Regions from separate parts of the Homo sapiens genome. Here region 1 is linked to region 2. Evidence: promoter capture Hi-C in human tissues and cell types (Jung and others, 2019). All regions are on one chromosome and are shown on one strand. The core of a region is centred on a gene start or on the middle of the fragment in contact, and the rest is flanking DNA. Distances in the headings are between cores, read along the strand shown.

Region 1 (3,832 bases), core at 522-3,021, 240 kb after region 2:
TTTGGATGTAACCAATCTACCATTGATCTGTCATATACCTCCCAACAGGTGTCCTCTGGTCCTTACTCACAATCTCGACAACTTGCTAGGGACCACTATTGGCTCCCAAAGTGGAAGGGATATGCCACCCTTAATTCAGCATTCGATACTCTGCCCAAGCTCCTAACTACAGCTGCCCCCACCTAGCTTTGACCTGCCCCCTACACTTCACCACCTGCTGCAACCTCTTTCTCAAATGTCCCCCTTACCACAATCAGGCTCAAACCACCCTGATTTAGCTTTAGCTGTTCCTCCTTCTGTGGACCAAGCTACTCTGTCCTCACCTTCCTGCAGATGCTCTCTTCTTTCCACTTCTGATTGGCCACCTTCATTACCACACCCTGCACCCCAACTTTCCACAGGTGCCCTTCTTGTCATACTCATATCCTGCATCCCCAACAGACTGCTGTGCCTTCCTTCATCCTCCTGTGTCAATGGCCATTGTGTTCATTCCCATGCAATGGCTTTTCCACTGAATATTGAAGAAGAATTGAAGGAAGAAAGAGAAGAATGAAAGAAGAAAAAAAGGGAGAAGGAGAAGAAAAGGAAAATGGGAGAAGGAGGGACAGATAAAGAGAGCTAGGGAGCAGGAAGGAAAAGAGGGAGGGGATCATTTGAAATCAATAAACGTTTATAGCAAAGTCCTCACCTGCCTTCCTCTTCTCCTTTTCCTTCCATCATTTCAGTCACAAGAAACCATCCTATGACACATGTATTTAGCTTCTTTATCGTGGTTGTCTGGAGGTATAATTAGCAAATTCAAGGAAGTAAATGTTTTTCTTACTTGCTATCAGATTTTATCCTTTAAAAAAGGACTTAAATGAAGGAACTTTACTGCAGCCCTGGGAACAGTAAGGGTGATATTCTGCAGCGAAGGGGCATTCTGAATCTTTCAAATGCACCACATGAGTCACTGCCTTTGTGCTTTCACATGAGAAGGGTGTTGCTGGGGGGCTCCATGTAACTCCAACCCAGCAAGAACGGGCTCTGTTTCTGTCTATGGGGGCTCTGACTTCTTTAAACTGAGCTTTCATCTAAAAATGAGGACTAATTTCTTTTTATAAGTTAAGAAAGTATCTCTGAGCATGTTGAGGAGAAAGTACACAGATAACAAAAATTAAGACTATCTAAAGTATTTGGGAAATCGAAAATTATCCAAATAAAAATGCAAAATAAAAATTCATTATGCTTGCCAAAAGAGAAAATATTAACTATTTTGTAAAAATAAATTGTCCCTTTCTTGTCTTTTTTCTGTAAGTTCTGTTGTAGATGGTCTAGGTTGCTTTTCTCCCATCTTCTTCTCTTTATTTTTATTTTATCATGGACTCTTACTCTCCCTCTCTGCTAAAGTTCTTCAGTCCTCCAAGGATCAGAGGGTGACAGAACTACAAGTGTTGCAACACCTAACAAGTGGAGAGAAAGATCAGCTAACATTATCTTGTTTCCAAATCATATTTGGGAATGAGCAAAAGCAGGTGATTCTGCTTCCTATAAAAGGAAAAAGAGGCCAAGTGCAGTGGCTCATGCCTGTAATCCCAGCACTTTGGGAGGTCATGGCAGGCGGATCATGAGGTCAGGAGATTGAGACCATCCTGGCTAACACGGTGAAACCCCGTCTCTACTAAAAATACAAAAAAATTAGCCGGGTGTGGTGGCAGGTGCCCATAGTCCCAGTTACTCGGGAGGCTGAGGCAGGAGAATTGCTTGAACCCAGGAGGCAGAGCTTGCAGTGAGCTGAGATCGCTCCACTGCACTCCAGCCTGGGCAACAGAGTGAGACTCCATCTCAAAAAAAAAAAAAAAAAAAAAAAAAAAAAAGGAAAAAGAAGGAAAATCCATCAATTTCATCAACCAGTTCAGTAACTGGTGTTTTTTGTCCTGCTTCCCTATCTTTGTATCCCTCATTTCTATGTGCTTGTGTCTTTGATTTTGTGAATGGTTAATGGGAGATAATTGGCATCTTTTGGTCCATGGGAGAGGATTGCCACAAATCATTTCTATTCACCTTTTGACCACAGGAGAGTTAATTAATGAAGCTTTGGGTGAGTAACACATGGAAAGGTTATTTTTGTGAAACACTTGAAAAAGATTTAGATATTGCAGACCTCAAATCAAAGTAAGCAACAAGACATTCAAATGCTGAACTGAATAAGGAAGTTGTTTATTAAAATGCATTTCAGCCTGTGATTTACTAAATCACCCATTCTTCTTCACTCCATGGACAAACAAGCTCCACTTGTCAATTATTCTACACTCACCAGAAGTCTGGAAAAGTCACCAAAAGCTTTCCTGGACATAATAGAGTTTGAATTTTGCTTAAAGTGTTGTTTTTCCAAGTGAAATAAATTGTTTTGATATCTCTCATATTTTCTGGGTCTAACTAATCTGACCAATATAACATGTGGCCTTGGTCTTAGAATTAAATTTAGAAGGACAGGATAAGGATACCAGTGGGAAATTCTAAGAGCTTCCTGAATAAAGACGAATGAAGAGATCTGAGTGGCTGCTGATAAGAAAGGAGAAGTGACCCACCTCATATTGCTTTAGAGCAGGCACCAGCAACACTTGGCCGCATACTGACGACCTGGTTTCACTAAATCAACCTGTGATCTGCTTTGAGAAAGAGTCATTAGAAAGACACTTTATTTCAACTTCTCTAATAATCATAGATATTAGTCCTCTAGTGGCTGAGAGGCAGCGACTAGTTTCCACTAAATACAGTTCAAAACTCTAAGATCTATATGGTGGGAGAATTGCAGATGGCATTTCCTGTATTCATCACACATTTCTGTATTTTTAAAATGTTTTTATTCTAGTATTTACATAAAATATATGACAGGCAGGAAAGTTAAAATCATTTATAGATAGCAGAAACATTCTGTAAACGTTTTAACATGTATTATATATACATATATAATATGTGTATATATACATTATAAATACATATATATTAATCCTCTAGCAAAAAAAAAAAAAAACAACACTGAGGCAGACTCAGGGCTGCTGGAAGCTCTGAAGGGAATCCAGATAGAGAAATGCTCAATTAAGGGCGGCAATCGTGAATACTGGATGAAAAGAGGAATAAAAAGACATTCTGCAATGTTATGGGCAGAGCTAGAATTTGATGAATGTTTTCTGAATTACGGAATGAGCAAGTGTAAGAACAGTGATGGTTGGGGTTCTGGATTATAAGGTGCTTTCTTACTTAGTTATCCGCTTGCTCTGAAGAATATGCAATGTGTATGACATGACAAAGGGTAGCACAAGGATTTAAATCAAAGGTATGCAAACTATGGCCCGTAAGCCTGTTTTTAAAAACAGTGTATTAAAAAAAAAAAATTAGCTGGGCGTGGTGGCGGGCGCCTGTAGTCCCAGCTACTCGGGAGGCTGAGGCAGGAGAATGACGTGAACCCGGGAGGTGGAGCTTGCAGTGAGCCGACATGGCGCCACTGCACTCCAGCCTGGGCGACAGAGCGAGATTCCGTCTCAAAAAAAAAAAAAAAAAAAAAAAAATTGTATTAAAACACATGCTCGTGTGTTCACATATTGTCTATGATTACATTTGTGTTCCAACAGCAGAGCTCGGTAGTGGTCCTAGAGAAAGCAAGACCCATTAAACCTAAAACACTTACTGTCTGGCCCTTTACAGAAAAAATTCTCGGATTTAAGTGGAGGTGATTGAGGCATCCCCAAACTCAGTATTATTAAAAACTCTACTTTAGAGACTTTTTCCCCAATAGTCAGAAGAAATAATATTCTCTCCATGTATTTTTTTACATTATCTTTTTTTTTGT
Region 2 (3,682 bases), core at 234-2,733:
CATGATTGTGGCCTTTGTCACCTGAGAGATACTGCAGAAGGCAGCAAAACATGTTTAATACAGAATTGCTTATTGTCAACTTACAGAACAAATACTGAGAAAAGCACTGAGAAAATGGAGATCTTTTTTAAAAAAAAGAGAATATCTGTAGGTTTAAATTGCTGTGCATTTGAAAAATCTGACTGAAAAGTAACCGAAAACAGTGAGAGAAATCTCATAGTTTGCTATAAAGAGAGTTAATTTAAAAAACTATCCCTATAGCTGATTATACCTGAAGAAGACTGTTCTATTCTCTGTCTGAACTCTTCACAGTTAATAAATGCATTGCTGTTTCCAATTCAATAGAGGCTGGAATTATAAATTATAATTTTATATTTGAAGAACAAAATTTCAGTTCTTCAGTATAAATTAAAATCTTTAAAAAAATTCTTTAGCCTTCACCCTGAGTAGTAAAAAGTGCTATTTCATATATACAGTGCTTGTAAGAACTATACAGTTTATTCAGATAAAACTTTTAAAGAGTTATTTCCTTTCATTGACATAAACTAAAAATAACTGCATTTTTCAACACAGGAGTAAAATAAAGTGTAGGTGCAAAAGAAAGCAAATAAAGAATAAGAGAACTTATTTGGGGAAAAACGGGGAAAATATTTACATCTGACAGCAATTGGGGTTTACAGCAGGCAATGGAACATGTGATATGTAATCTTAGTCAATTAGGAAGGTATCATCTTGCAAAGCTGGGTTTATTTGATAGTGCATATTGCCGACACTCTTTAAGAAGGGATTTAACAGAAGTCTTGGTTGCTTAGCAACAAATGCCCCCTGGGAACAAGTTCATTTTTAGCCAGGTGTTGGTCACCAAGTTTCCCAAGTATTGCTGTGAGTCTTACCTATGAACTTCTCCTAATACATTACATGAGAAGCCGTTACCAGTATATGGCCCTGCACAGGTAAGAGTATAGCACATATTTGGAAAACTGATTCTTGAAAGGTCAATGCCTGCTTTTGAGTAACCATGTTGAGACAGACAAACTACTTGACTTATTTCAGAGTATATGATTAAGTCCTTCAGTGTTTTCCAGTAGTTAACAGCGTGGAAAAATACAGGTTACTTGCTTTACTTGAGTCCTTGTGAACCTTTAAATAACCATGTTGCAGAAGCCCATAGACCCATGAACTCTTGTTAACCTCTGATTGACAGATGAGAGTTTGCCTATTAACATGAAAATCACTATTTGCTGAAGGTATGGTCTACAGATGATGAGTGATGGGTGATGGTCAAAGTGGTGATTATGGATACTTTGAAGAATTAAAATAAACTTATTTTTACACGTGTGAAAACATTAGCCTCTGTGGCTAACCAACACACTAATGAGATGTTGCTGTGTTATTGCCCCAAGCAGACAGAAGAAAGAGTCTGGAGAGGCTTTTGACAATCACCAGGGAAGGTATAAAACGTCCTTAGGCCACAGACACACTGCACAGCGACCACTGAGCATGCCTGCAGGCTCCATGTCTACTACAGGCTATCCTGGGGTCTGCAGTACCACATCATACAGAACTCACTGTTATATCCCAGTGACCTCTTCTGTTACTCTTAGCTCCAGTGATTTAAGCCCTACCTTTGGACACTGCTTACCCAGTAGCTACCAAGGAAATCTCTGGCTCCTGGATTACTGCCAAGAATCCTACGGTGAAGCACCAACCTGCAAATCTCCCAGCTGTGAGCCCAAGACCTGCAGTACCACTGGTTGTGACCCGTCAAACTCCTCTGTGCCCTGCAACTCCCCATCAGCAGGCCAAGTCTTCAGTGTCTGTGAAACTACCAACGTCAGCCCCAGCCCCAGCTGCAGCCCAAGCACCCAGACCAATGGGTATGTATGCAATTGCCACATACCCACTCGAAATGCATCCAAAGCCTGCCAAACCCTCCGCAACGGTTCCAACTGCTTTGGACAACTTAACTGCTTATCCAAGAGTTTCCAAACTCTAAACCACTGCAGATTGAGTACTTTGGGGTATAAAAGCTACCAAAATCCTTGCTTCATACCCAGCTACGTCTCACCATTATGTTATATTTCCAACAGCTGCCAACCCCAAAGCTATTTAGTGAGAAATTATCACTATTCAAGCTACAGGCCTACGAGCTGCCGACCACTGAGCTATTTATCTAGAAGCTTCAGATCTCTGAGCTATATACCCAGTACCTTTCCACCTCTGAGGTATTTGTGCAGTGGTAGCAGACCTCTGAAATGCTATTGACCAACTTCCAGAATTTATAGCAGCTGGAAATTGCCCAATGGGGAAGATTCTACTAAGTACTAGAACGTCTAATTTTCTGCTGAATCTCTTTATTCAGCCTAAGAATCTTGTTACATTAAGTTCAAATACAACTCCCAGGTTTATTAACCACAGCCAGTATCACCTGCTAGGTTTTCTTTTTTCTGTTGTTCTGTTATTGCTCTTTGTACTAAAAGCTGACCCTGAAGGTAACATCATTATTTCTGAGATTTATTACAATGGACTTACCGAAGAGACTCCATTTGAAATACAACCATCACCGGCTTTCTTACTTTGGCTGTCACTGTCACTTGTCTGACAGTGTGATTATCACCTACCTTTCCTGATGAAATGGGGCCTCCATGGTTTGACTGCAGATTCCAGCATGCAAATTCATTCGGATGGCTTTGATTGTCATTAATATTTTTGTCAACTACCTAACTAGCACCTTGCTAATAAGCCGATAGAAAACACTATCTTGAGCATAATAAGTTGAACTATTTCATCCTTTTCTTACTGATTGATTGTAAGAACAGGCAAATAGCAATGGTGACTAGAGCTCAAAAATAGAAGACTTCAGCAAATCTTCTCTTCCAGAGAAGCCATAAAACAAGATTCACTGGTACTCAGCTTTTGTTCTCCATGCCTAAGAAAAAGCCTCAGAATTAGCTAAAGCATGAAAATTATTTGTTGAAAGAAGAACAAATACTGTTAGAGACCCTTTACAATTATGTGTAATCTGCGTTTAGGATTCTCCTATCATCTTGCCTTGCCAATTTATTGCATTCTGACTCTGGAAAATGTCCTAGTTCTTAGTTAATAAACAAATTTCTGTCTGGAAGTAATGGCTTTCCTTATGCTTTATTTCACATTTACTAAAATTTCATCCATATTCTGGGCAATATACATAGCATTGTCAAAATGCTGCTTTCCTGCCATTTAGTTTAGAGTCTAAATTAAAGATACAAAGAAGGGGCCAGATGCGGTGGCTCATGCCTGTAATCCAAGCACTTTGGGAGGCCAAGGCAGGTGTATGACCTAAGGTCAGGAGTTCGAGACCAGCCTGACCAACATGGTGAAACCCCGTCTCTACTAAATACAAAAAAAAATTAGCCGGGCGTGGTGGTATATGCCTGTAATCCCAGCTACTTGGGAAGCTGAGGAGGTAGAATCTCTTGAACCCGGGAGGCGGAGGTTGCAATGAGTCGAGATTGTGCCACTGCACCGCAGCCTGGGTTACAAGAGTGAAACTCAGTCTCAAAAAAAAAAAAAAAAAGTAGAATATGGAATCACAAGCTTCTGACTTGTTTTTTTCTGTTTTTAACATGTTATGTTTATCTCACCTAGAATGTCTACATTAATATTGATATACAGAAATTTGGAAACATAAATCAATTTA

What was found. The method cuts DNA at HindIII sites, captures the fragments that hold promoters and counts their contacts. A contact is called where the count stands out against the background at its distance.
Region 1: a contact is called between a fragment that was not itself captured here and the fragment with the promoter of KRTAP24-1 in region 2, in 2 of the 25 tissues and cell types used here (H1 embryonic stem cells and adrenal gland).

What each region holds. Positions count from the first base shown.
Region 1 is chr21:30,036,290-30,040,121 of GRCh38, reverse strand. No RefSeq gene overlaps it. Among named protein-coding and RNA genes, the nearest start is that of GRIK1, 98 kb to the right of the region's middle. The HindIII fragment of the contact is 6,391 bases long and covers 1-3,832 here.
Region 2 is chr21:30,280,751-30,284,432 of GRCh38, reverse strand. KRTAP24-1 (keratin associated protein 24-1) reads left to right here and starts at 1,483. Exons shown (of 1, transcript NM_001085455.3): 1 at 1,483-3,124. The coding sequence starts at 1,501. The coding sequence ends at 2,265. The HindIII fragment of the contact is 1,878 bases long and covers 1,003-2,880 here.